Linked DNA regions of Homo sapiens: all the other regions are linked to region 3. The links are contacts of gene promoters, found by promoter capture Hi-C in blood cells and fetal thymus (Javierre and others, 2016). All regions are on one chromosome and are shown on one strand. The core of a region is centred on a gene start or on the middle of the fragment in contact, and the rest is flanking DNA. Distances in the headings are between cores, read along the strand shown.

The links. The method cuts DNA at HindIII sites, captures the fragments that hold promoters and counts their contacts. A CHiCAGO score of 5 or more calls a contact.
Region 1: a fragment that was not itself captured here is called in contact with the fragment with the promoter of NKX2-8 in region 3 in 1 of 17 cell types (M1 macrophages); the score reaches 5.6 in M1 macrophages.
Region 2: a contact is called between a fragment that was not itself captured here and the fragment with the promoter of NKX2-8 in region 3, in 1 of 17 cell types (M1 macrophages). The highest score is 6.5, in M1 macrophages.
Region 4: the fragment with the promoter of LINC00609 here is called in contact with the fragment with the promoter of NKX2-8 in region 3 in 2 of 17 cell types (M0 macrophages and megakaryocytes); the score reaches 6.4 in M0 macrophages.

The regions. Positions count from the first base shown.
Region 1 is chr14:35,893,487-35,896,357 of GRCh38, forward strand. No RefSeq gene overlaps it. Among named protein-coding and RNA genes, the nearest start is that of BRMS1L, 69 kb to the left of the region's middle. The HindIII fragment of the contact is 3,843 bases long and covers 1-2,871 here.
Region 2 is chr14:36,052,742-36,055,564 of GRCh38, forward strand. All of the region lies in intron 1 of LOC105370452 (a long non-coding RNA gene), which reads right to left. It also overlaps the pseudogene ILF2P2. Among named protein-coding and RNA genes, the nearest start is that of LINC00609, 16 kb to the right of the region's middle. The HindIII fragment of the contact is 1,381 bases long and covers 795-2,175 here.
Region 3 is chr14:36,581,347-36,584,421 of GRCh38, forward strand. NKX2-8 (NK2 homeobox 8) reads right to left here and starts at 1,268. Exons shown (of 2, transcript NM_014360.4): 1 at 887-1,268; 2 at 1-118. The coding sequence starts at 1,043. RefSeq lists an enhancer at 1-659. The HindIII fragment of the contact is 11,395 bases long and covers 1-3,075 here.
Region 4 is chr14:36,069,059-36,072,245 of GRCh38, forward strand. LINC00609 (long intergenic non-protein coding RNA 609) reads left to right here and starts at 1,369. Exons shown (of 3, transcript NR_073454.1): 1 at 1,369-1,627. The HindIII fragment of the contact is 3,305 bases long and covers 1-2,539 here.

The DNA of each region.
Region 1 (2,871 bases), core at 166-2,665, 690 kb before region 3:
TTTGAGTAGACTTTTGTACATGGTGAAAGATAGGGGTACAGTTTCATTCTTTTTTTTTTTTTTTTTTTTTTTTTTTACTTCAGGTTATGTATCTGATAGCCAGTTTCATTCTTCTCAGTATGGTTATCCACTTGCCTCAGCACCATTTATTGAAAAGGGTGTCATTTCTCCAATGTATGTTCTTGGTGGCTTTGTTGAAGATCAGTTGGCTATAAATATGTGGATTTATTTCTGGGTTCTCTATTCTATTAGATTGGTCTATTTGTCTATTTTCATTCCAACATCATGCTGTTTTGGTTACTTGTAGTCTGTTTTGAAGTCAGGTAGTGTGATACCTCCAGCTTGGTTCTTTTTGCTTAGTAATGCTTTGGCTATTTGTGTTCTTTCTTGGTTCCATACAAATTTTGGAATTTTTTTTTCTATTTCTGTGAAAAATGATATTAGTATTTTTGATAAGGATTGTATCAAATCTGTAGATTACTTTGGGCAGTATGGTCATTTTAATGATATGAATTCTTCCAATCCATGGGCACAAAATGTCTTTCCATTTATTCGTATCCTCTTCGATTTCTTTCATAGTGTTTTGTAGTTTTCCTTGTAGAGATCTTTCACCTCCTTGGTTAAATTTATTTCTAGGTATTTTTTTTTGGTAATGGGAACTGCCTTCTGGATTTCTTTTTTGCCTATTTCATTATTGGAGTATAGAAGTGCTACCAATTTTTGTGTTTTTGTATCCTGTAATTTTACTGAATTTATCAGTTCTAGGAGTTTTTTGGTGGCACCTTTTGTTTTTTCTAGATATAAAATTATGTCGTCTGCAAAGAAGGATCATTTGGCTTTCTCTTTTCCAAATTAGATGCCTTTTATTTCTTGTTCTTGTCTGATTGCTCTGGCTAGGACTTCCAGTACTATGTTGAATAGAAGCGGTGAAAGTGGGCATTCTTGACTTGTTCCAATTAATAGAGGAAAGGTTTTCACCATTCAGTATGATGATAGCTGTAGGTTTGTTCTAATATTGCCTTTATTATTTTGAGGTATGATTCTTCTATGCCTAATTTGTTGAGCATTTTTAATCCTGAAGCAGTGTTGAATTTTGTCAAATCTTTTTTCTGCATCTATTGAGATTAACATATGGTTTTGCCCTTCATTTTGTTGATGTGGTGTATCATGTTTATTGATTTGCATGTGCTGAACCATCCTTGCATTCCTAGTATAAATTTAAATTGATCATGGTGTATTATCTTTTTGATGTGCTGTTGCACTTAGTTTGCTAGTATTTTGTTGAGGGTTTTTGCATCTGTGTTAATCAGGGATATTGGCCTGTACTTTTCTTTTTTTGTTGTGTCCTTGTCTGGTTTTGGCATCAGAGTAATACTGGCCTTACAGAATGAGTAAGAGATGATTCCCTCCTTTTCAAGTTTTTGGAATAGTTTGAGGAGGATTGTTATTAATTTTTCTTTTTGCATTTGGTAAAATTCAGCTGTTATTCCATCTGGTCCTGGACTTTTCTTTGTTGAGAGGCTTTTTCTTACTGATTCAATCTTGCTACCTGTTATTGGTCTGTTCAGGTTTTTTATTTCATCCTGATTCAATCTTGGTGGGTTTTGTTTCCAGGAATTTATTCATTTCCTCTACATATTCCAGTTGGTTATCATATAGTTAGTTGTTCATAATGATCTCTGATGATCTTTTGTATTTCTGTGGTATCAGTTGTAATGTATCCTTTTTCATTTCTGACTTTGTTTATTTGGGTCTTCTCTCTTCTTGGTTAGTCTAGTGGTTTATAAACTTTATCTTTTCAAAGAGCATATATATATATTTGCTCTTTGAAATATTTGCTCTATTTCACCACTTCTCTGATCTTTGTGTTTTTTTCTTCTGTGAATTTTGGGTTTGTTCTTGCTCTTCCAGTTTCTTGGAGTGTATCATTAGATTGTTTATTTAAAATCTTTATTTTTGTTGATGTAGGCATTTATTGCTATACACTTCTCTCTTAGCATTGCTTTTGCTGTGTCCCACAGGTTTTGCATGTTATGTTTCTATTTTCAATTGTTTCAAGAAATTTTTGATTTTCATCTTAATGGTCATTCAAGAGCATGTTGTTTAATTTCCATGTATTTGTATAGTTTCCAAGTTCCTTCTGGTATTGATTTATATAGTTTTATTCCATTGTGGTCTGAGAAGATATTTGATATAATTTTGATTTTTGAAAATTTGTTGAGACATGCTTTCTGGCCTAACGTATAGTCAATCCTGGTGAATGTACCATGTCCTGATGAGAAGAATGTTTATTCTGCAGTTGTTGGATAAAATGTTCTGTAAATGTCTATTAGGTCCATTTGGTCTAAAGTCCAGTTTAAGTCTAATGCTTCTCTGGGAGTGGGGAGTTGAAGTCTCCCACTATTATTGTATCAGAGTCTAGCTCTTTCTTTAGATCTAGTAATATTTGACTTATGAATCTGGGTGCTCCAGTGTTGGGTGCATATGTATTTAAAATTATTGTATCCTCTTGCTGGATTTATCCCTTTCTCATTACATAATGACTGTCTTTGTCTTTTTTTAAAAACTGCTTTTGACTTAAAGTCTGTTTTATCTGATATAAGTATAACTGCTCCTGCTCACTTTTGATTTCTGTTTGTGTGGAATATCTTTTTCCAACCTTTTACTTTCAGTCTGTATCTGTCTTTACAGGTAAAGTGTGTTTCTTGTAGGCAGCATATAGTTGGTTCACTTTTTAAAAATTTCTTAAGTCAGTCTACATCTTTTAAGTGGAGAATTGAATCCATTTACATTCGAAGTAATTATTGATATATGAGGTTTTATTTGCTTTACTGTTAATTATTTTCTGATTGCTTCCTTTTTTTTTTCTCT
Region 2 (2,823 bases), core at 235-2,734, 530 kb before region 3:
CCATTTTGCCTCCTACTTGCCCTTTTGCTAAATCATGATTTCACCCTGTGCCAGATAGTTATGGGTGTATGAAAAGATGGCACTGGTGAAAGGCAGAGCGGTGAACACACTTGACTCAAGCCTGAGGAATCCAGGAAAAAGTTGCCAATGATGAAAATTGTGTGTGTGTGTGTGTGTGTGTGTGTGTGCGCGTCCACATGTGTGTGTAGTGAATACCTTAGAACAATTCCTTTATTCACATATTCAGAAGTGTAAAACATGCCTATTTGGAAGTACAGATTCACTTACATAATGTCTACCAGTGTGCTGCAGTTATTTAAAAGCTAGCTATCAACTTGGTAAGATATGGGAACTTTTCTATTTTGTACCTACTGTTTTAAAACTGCTGTATATATTTGTACACGTGACAAGCAGCTATTAAATGTTATAATGATTTTTTATTATACTGTCATTAAAAGGCATTTATCAAGTGCTTGTTTTAATGTAGCCCTATCTTAGGTGAGAGAAAAGAGGGCCTCCTTGATATGTAACACTCCACTGATAAAATTTGCAGTCTGTTCTTAAAACACTGTATATTCTGATGAGGAAAGTACAAAAGGTCTCAACATGTATTAATTTTATGCCTTTTTTTGTAGGCAAAAGAAGTAGGAAGAACAGTTTCTGTTCTCAGGCAGGTCTATTTGGGGATAAAAATAGAATATGAAATAGAATGCAATAAACAAATTACATAGCTATACTTTTTGAAGTCCAGGTCGGGCAGTGAGGTTAGGCTGGAAGACCTCTTAAGTTGTGAAAGCTTGGTTAAAGATAGGAGTTGACATGGCCTGAGTGTCAGCCAGTGGGGTTCTCTGTCACCAGATGGCTTTGTTAATTTGCAAAGTCCACAAAAAGTCATCAATAGTCATTGCTCTCTTTCTCTACCGAGTCCCTTAGTCTTCGGGCTCATTTCATCCAAATTAATGAAAGGAAAATCTATAAACAACAGCTTTATTGGGAGTTAAATCTCTAAGGAAAAAGCAGAAATTTGTAGATCTTCAAAGCAGTGTTTGCTCTCAGGTATCTCCTTTTATGTTTATTTATTTATGCCCTATTAGGAAGTATTTTCATTGTTTTTCTTAGAAAAAGTTTTCCAGACACTAACAGCTCACAACATTTCAACAGCAAAGTTATTAGTTGAGAGAAGGGTTTTCAGGAGTTGGGGATTCTAGAGTATGAGGAAGAAATGTTGGTATCCCGCTTCATTATAGATGGATGGCATAGGTCATAAATGGGAGACTCTGGCTGCTAAGCCAATATCAAAACCCACTGGACTGGCATTTCCTTCTACAGAGTTTATTTTCCTTCCTGTTGTCTTCCTGTCCCACGGAAATCCCTGCCACCATGTAAAGCCCACTGGCAGCTAGCTTAGGCTCCAGTCTTCCCCCTTGGGTAGGAAAGGGAGTGAAGGGAAGGTCACTCCTGAGTTTCCATGCTTTCCTCTTTCTCTCCTTGAGGTGGTTCTTCTGTCTTCTCCTTTTCTTCCTCTCCTCCCTGTTTCTCTGGCAGCTTCTCTTAAGCCTTTTCTGAAGGTGTTACTATCACTCCATCCCAGGTAGATATTTTGGAAGCAAGATGGCTGGCATCGTCCTCCTGGCCAAGGATCTTCCTAAAGCCACCAGAGGATTCAGACCAGAGTCAGAGCTGTGTGGCAGACCATGTCCTGCAGTTGCATGGTCATGACTGTGTGTACTCTCACAGGGGTCAGTGACACCCAGTGACCCTGGTGGGAACTGTCCTGCAGCCAGAATTTGCAAGCAATGCTCATATGCAACATTTAGGGCCAAAGGCTGTCTGGTGAGGTTGTTCATCACAGCAGAATGACCCAGTAGGTCAAGGATCCAGAATGTGAGTGGCTCAAAGCCAGGAAGACAAATCCTCAAGTCCTTGAGTAGTCTGATGAGAACTTTATGGACTGAGAGGCACTTCTCTCAATCCAGCAGGCAGGGCAGATGACTGCCAAGGCATTCTGCAATACCTTGCTATCCAAATAGACTTTGGGGTCCAGTTTTCCAAGATTGAGTGACACTATTGTAATGAGAATCTTCACTGGAGCATCAGAAGAACTGATTTCAAGCCAGTTTTGTTGGTCAGCACGGTCAAAACTTCAGAAGAATCTTGTGCTCTGAGGCTTTCCAAAGCTTTGTTCCCCAGGGCAGTAACAGCTTCCAGTGTTGGCAGAGTCTTTAGTATTATCACCAGGGCAGCTGCACTGTGGCCTGTAGCCATCTTTCTCTTTTAGTACGATCCCACCTGTCAGACTTCTTGAATTTGCACTTCAAATTAGAGCCACAATCAAATTATCAGTCACGTTGTTTATTTTTGTCACCAGAGAAAGGACAGAGTCCTGTTCAGCAGAGTTGGGAGCCAGGTACTGATCTCTCTTCAGCAAGGCCTCACTGAAGGACATTTCATCAGGTGCTGGCTTGACCCCTGGGAAGGCCATTTCACACAGATGGAAATCAAATGGGATATGTGGCACAAAGAGCCTGAACCCTCCTCTTGGGCCTCTTCTGGAACCAAAGCGCCCACCACGACCATGGCTTCTGTCATCTCTCATGGCACCTTAAATCCCCCACACTGGAGGCTGCACTAACCACCCCTTTCCTCTCAGATACCTCATTTTAAATCATGGTAGGCTTAAACTTTATAAGCCTTTAGCATTACACATTCCATTGTTTATCTTTCATTCTCTAGCATTTATGAAGGTAGAATTTTCCTCTCCAAATTGTAATGTGATGATGAAATAGCAGAAAAGATCTCACTTTTCTCCCCTTGGAAGAAATA
Region 3 (3,075 bases), core at 18-2,517:
GAGAATAGCACCCGCCGCTTCTTCCTTTTCTCGGCGTCCGAGCCCGGAGACGCGGGCCTAGCGGACGGCCGCTGCGACGAGTCTGGCGGGCTGGTCTCCAGGCTGCTCTCGTCCGAGGCTAGGGACAGCAAAGGAGACACGGGTGGGTGAGACGCCGGACCCTACGAGGGCCTGCTGCCCTTCTGGCGCGGGCGTGGAGGCACTGGCCAGAGGGCACGCCCACTAGCCCGAGACTTTCGGGATGAGGCCATTTCCTGAGTCCACATCTGGACATCCACCTCTCCGAATGCGGTGACCTCATTCATACCACAGCGGTCATCAGCGGGCCTGAGATCGTGCCCCGAAAAAACCCACCCCGGGGCCCTCTTAACATGTCCGCACCGGTAGTTGCGCTGGCCGACCAGTTTATCACAAGCTGGGTCACCAGCGCCGGCCTCCTCCAGGTCGACTGCACTGCAGTGTGCCGAGGTTTGCGGAGCCCTGAGTGGGAACGGGGTGGGGGTAAACTCGCCAACACTGGCCATCCCAGACGGAGGCCTGGAGATCGTGGCCGTGTTTTCAGGCATGGAGAGGGGGCGGGGGGTGGGGTGGGGGCGGCAGGTGGCGGCGCGTTTTAAATTTCAATTATTCCGACCTCTAGAAATCGTCAGACACAGAAACCCCAAATCTCGGAGCACCAGTGCCAGGCAGGGATCTGCTCTTAGGATGTGCCGACCGGGATGAATGCGTTAGGGGTTCGAGGACAGGGCTCCCGTTTCCAAGACTGAGGAAATCTAGACTCTGGGCTGGGATTTCGGCTTTCCGGCCCCTCGTGGGCTGGGCCCTTGATTCTGCTGCCCCACGCCTCCTACCTCCCACCCCGCACCGCAATCCACCACGCACTTACAAGGGTAGTGGCCGCGCTCCGAATCCAGCCAGGCGGCGCAGGGGTCGGGCTGGGGGGCGCGTGGTTCTGGCTCCCGCCTCGGCAGGTGTTGCGCGTCCTGCTCGGGTAAATCTAGAAGGCTGCGCACGGTGAAGCTCAGGCGTCCAGAGGTGGCCATGGCCGAGGAGGGGAAGGAGGCGGGGGCAGGGCAGGCTGGGAACGGAGGGGCGGCCGGGACGCCGCTCCTACGGATGGGCGTGGGAGGCGCTCGCCATGCGCTGGCAGCCGGGATATTAGCGCATTTACAGCGGAATCTCTGTTTATATAAACAGCTCTTCCCACCCAGGCCGCTTTGAAAGCCGAGGTCCGGGTCTCCAGGGTGTTAAGTACCTGAATGAGCACTGGACCAGAGCCGGGGCGAGCCCGGAAGGTGCCACCTCCGCCCCCGCCCCGCCCCGCACCCCGCCCCGCACCCCGCCCCTTGGCGCCCAGTTACCTCCCAGAGGCTGCAGGAAGCAGCATTTGGCATTAGCGATTCTGTCTGATTAGCCCAAAGTGGGGACAGATAATGGGGATTGTTACCAGTGAATAACATCTTGGGTGGCGAGCGGTGGCCACCACCCGCCTGACCCAGCCCCAGCTTCCTCCTCCTCCTCCTGGGCTGACTTGAGGCCAGGCCCCGCGGGAGCGCCGGGAAGGGTGGGGGTGGCAGGGGTGGGTTTATTAGCACCCAGGAATTTATTCCCTGTTTGCTTTATTCTTCGAGCTTGTTTGCTGGAGTGGTAGTTTCCCGCAATTATCCAGAAAGTGATTTACAAAGCGGCGTTAAACTCTGGCGCGCTCCCTTTCTCTTTTTGGTTGGGCCCCTCTAAGATTCAGGATGACAAGTTTCAGGAGGGCGTAAAGATTAGCCTGGCCCTGCCAGCATTGGCCCAGGGGTTTCAACGGCCGCTGGGAGCCTCGGATCACACCATACATCCCCCTAACAGCCTCAGAGGTGCTGAGGAAGGGCTGGGACAACATTCGGAGCCCCAGCTCCACGTCTCCACAGGCCGGCAAAACAGAAGAGGCTTGTAGCCAAGCTACTTAGGTCTACAGTGCCTGTCTCTTTGGCCCAGCTTCGCCCGGCCGCTGCCGATCTCGGAGCTCGGAGGCCGAGCTCCACAAATTTGGGTCCAGGCCCGCTTTAGAGCCCCTGGGCGGGGGCGCTTCTCAGGGCATCCTGTGAGGGCTTTGAGGCCTCCTTGGAGTCGCCAGATGAACTGGTGCCGCCTGTGCGCCTTGGCCCCATAGCCTCAACGGCACTCTCACTGCCTGGGCTTTGGTCTTTGCCCAGGAGCCTGCCCATGGCCTACGCTCCCCGCTCGCAGCATGGCAGACCCTGACGAGGCTGCCCGCCTTGGTCCGGGAATGGACCGATCGGGAGAATTAGGACAGGGCCTACCCGGCAGAAAATACCACCGGCCATGGGTTTCTCTGGGATCTTCTAGTTTCCACAGTTCCACCCTAGAAAATGATCAATGTAGGAGGCGCAGGGAACAGGCCGCCGTGGATACATTTTGTTGGGCCATGGCCTAGCTCTGGCCGCGCTTCAATCTACAGAGGAACGCCCTCTCAGAGGCCTCTCCTACTGAAGCTAGTAGTTTGGATATTTAGTTGCTAAATTGTAGCGAAGGGCTCTGTACTTGGGTGGCTGCACCAGAAGTCCTGGCTCCTCCCGGGCTGAACTCGAACCTGGCTCGGATGCGGCGGCGGCGGCCCTGTCAAGCCCCGCGCACCCTCCCCAGCAGCCTCCCTATCAAGCGTGCCCGAGGTGCCCGGAGCTGCACCGCGCGCTGGGTGGTCGGGCGGAGGCAACCCCAATACAGGCCAACTGCTAGGCCGCGGACAAAGGGGAAATGGAGCTCGACGCCCCGGACCTGTTGGAAGCATTTGTTCCAGTCAAGATTTTGCATTTGTTCAGTCCGGAATAATGCATGATTGACGTCTGCTCACAATGCGCTTTAACGCGCCGGGATAAATCGGAGCTTGTCCGGTGTTGTCATGGTTTTCAATGGGGTTCAATGGGATTGGGAGCACGATCGACTCTGCTGGCCGTCTTTCCGCGGCCCTGGCAATAGATTTATTAGTTATGTCTTTTTAAATAAGATTAAACTGAAATGACTTGGCTGTCCTCTCTGCAGACGGGGCCGGGGCGGGAGCCTGGAGTG
Region 4 (3,187 bases), core at 119-2,618, 510 kb before region 3:
ATTCATGAGCTCTTTCAGAACAATTTTCATTACTTTTTTTAAATACTGTTTTTGGCAAACACTTGATACTTGAAATAAAAAATGCATGAGTCACCTACTGGGATAGGCACAGTGTGTGGTTCATTGAATTTAGCTAAATTGTGAGTCATCCATCAATAGTCCTCTTGGTGAACATACTTGTAATAATTTCACACATTACAAACAAAAATAGGTATGATTTTCAAGATTCTTGAAGCTGTTTCCCTTGGGGATTCTTTGGATTGTGTTTAGAGTTTTTTGTGTTGCTAGGTGGTGAGAAACTTGTCAGCTTTGTTTTCAGATGGATCCAAGGCTTGTGTCTCTGTCACGTGATAAAAGAACTTTGGTTTGGGAGGCTCAGGGGCAGAGTATGAAGCTGAGCGTCATGAAGTGGGGGGAAACAGGAATTAGCGATTAATATTTGTCCTTGTCAGATCATTGACTTTTAAGATTGATTTTGGCATCTGAAAAATGTTTGGCTCCACTCTCAGGACAGAGTCAGAGCAGTAAGAATATGCACCTGTGTCCCCCACCCCCTTTTTTCTGATAGGAGAGAGCTGAGCAGGGTGGTTATGTGTCTGTGCACTACTGCCCTCTGTTGGATGGCACTAGAATTTCTCTGTATCCACACCCCAGCTGAATGAGCGCTCCTGGTTGGCTGGCAGGTGACCCAGGCAAATATGTCATTATTGGACTAAGACCAATTAAAAAAAAATAGTTGGCCTGTATAAACTAAGAGAGACCTCTCTCTGGTGGAGAAATAAGAGTGTAGACTTTCTGACCTGTAGGGTTCTTCTATTCTGGTGGCTGCCGGGCAAGAGGCTGGCATCTGCTGCTGAATGACAGGACAGACTTTGTGATTAAACTGCTAGATCTTTGGCTTTTCAGGAAGTGAAAATAATCACAAGATAAAGTATCCTTACTTGCATTTTTCCCCTTTCATAAGTGCAATAGGGCATAAAAGGGCTTTGGCTTTTGGCTACAATCAGAGGTGAAAGTTTTTATATGGATATAAGAAGAGAAGTTAAAGCTCTTTGCAAACTATGGCTAAAGTGCCATGTCAGTAAGACGTATACAGTGACCCAGGACACTGGCTGGGAAGTTTTCTTTGTTTTGGCAGATTCCTCTGCCCTCCTTCACCTTCTCCAAGGTAGCGAGAGTAAGTGTCCAGGCATGAGCCTTGGGGATACTGTCCTGCCACTACTGGCTGAGTAACTTGGGAAAGTTGTCTGACTCTTGGGCCACATTTTTTCTTTTGTGTAAAATGAGGCATTTGAAATAGATGCTATCTCAGAGTCGCTTCATTTCTGAGATGCAATAAATTATCTTTTCTTCCTAGATGATAATGTAAGCACAAAGAACAAAACTATTTAAAGACCACACACATACCCTCTCAAACAAATCACCTCCCTTTGGGAAAGCAACATGTTCACTGTGATAATTCAGCATCAGGACCTGAGGTGGTGGGAACAGCTTTGGCTGGTTTGCTGCTCTCCAAGGAGCTCCTGTGCCGGCCGCATTGGACAAGCATCTCTGCCCTGCGGCGCAGAGTCTCCAGGACCAGCAGATGGCGGACTTGCACAGTCCACACATTTTCCAGGTTCTCAAGGTAAATGGTACTGATTAACATCCAGAAATAACACCCACTGATGTTTGAACAAATTGCAGCGTTTTCCAGGCCACTAAAACCATGGCACTTTGTGAGCTGGAACATTTGCTAATATTTAAAATGGTTAGAAAGATTGTTAATCTATAATACTTTCGAGTGTTAACAGCCTCTTTCACCCACGCATCAGAAACCCTTAATAAATTGGCCTTCTTTTTTTTCAGGTGGGGAAATTAGGGCAGAGGGTCAATTGGCTAAGATCACAGCAGAACTAGTCCAAATAATTCAGACTATACACCTTGGTGATCTTTTAGAATTGTCGTTCCTCTTGCCCTTCCTTTCTTTAATGCCCACTTCTCTTGGTTGTGGAGGGGAATGTGTGTGTTGACTGGGGATATGGAAGAGGAATTGACGTCTTCTGCACTTTGGGGCATTGCCACCTGCCATGGTCATCAAAGCTCCTGATCGCCACAACCTGTATTCAGAATACCTGTGATAATAAGAACTGGCATTTATTGATTACTTACTTTGAGCCAGGCATTGTTCTAAGCATTTCTCACACACTAATCATTTAATCCTTCCAGCAGCCCATAAAGGAGGCAGAGAGAGTAAGTAACTTACCTAGAATAACAGATCTTTGTATTTTTCTAGGCTCTAAAAGCAGCAATGACTTCAATCTATTTTTTAGTGGTAATCACTCTTTCACCCCAGATATTTTCCAGCTAACAGATCATTGACTGATTTTTAATATTTAAATTGAGAAATTTATTGGAGCTTTGGTGATAATCATGTAAGTAAGCCCTGGTTATAGTAGCTTGTAATGCTATTATTAGTGTTCAAGATTTCCTTTCACAACCTTGTGCTTAGAAGGAATGATTCACTAGAAATGGAAATAAGATGTAAATGAAATGGGGAAGCTTGGCAATTTAATCACTCAAGTAATACATATTTTCAAAGTGCTCACTTAATCCACTAGTCACAAGGCGGCATTAGAGATGTGTTGGGGGGTTTCACTCCAACAACATTTATTTATTTCAAAAACATACATAGTGGTTACTGCATACCAGGCACAAATATTAGTTCACTTAATTCTCCTCACAACTATGATGAGCCCCTTTTACAGATGAGGAAACCAAGGTTCAGAGAGGTAAGAAACATAGCTAGTAAGTGGCAGATCAAGATTTAAACCAGCCCCTAGCTTCTGATCCATGCTCATAACTACGAGGCTGTGCTACCCCTATCAATAGAAATCAGGTATGCTGGCGGGACGTACAGTAATTTAACCAGAGTCAAAGACAGAAACAAACAGTTATAGTGTTGATTTCCTCCTAACAACAATCCTTATATAGCAAATAATTTCTTTCTTTCCCTCTCTCTCTCTCTTTTTATTTTTTGAGACAGCGTCTCACTCCATCACCTAGGCTAGAGTGCAGTGGCACGATCTTGGCTCACTTCAGCCTCCACCTCCTGGGTTCAAGCGATTCTCATGCCTCAGCCTCCTGAGTAGCTGGGACCACAGGTGCATGCCACCATGCCTGGCTAATTTTTGTATTTTTAGTAGAG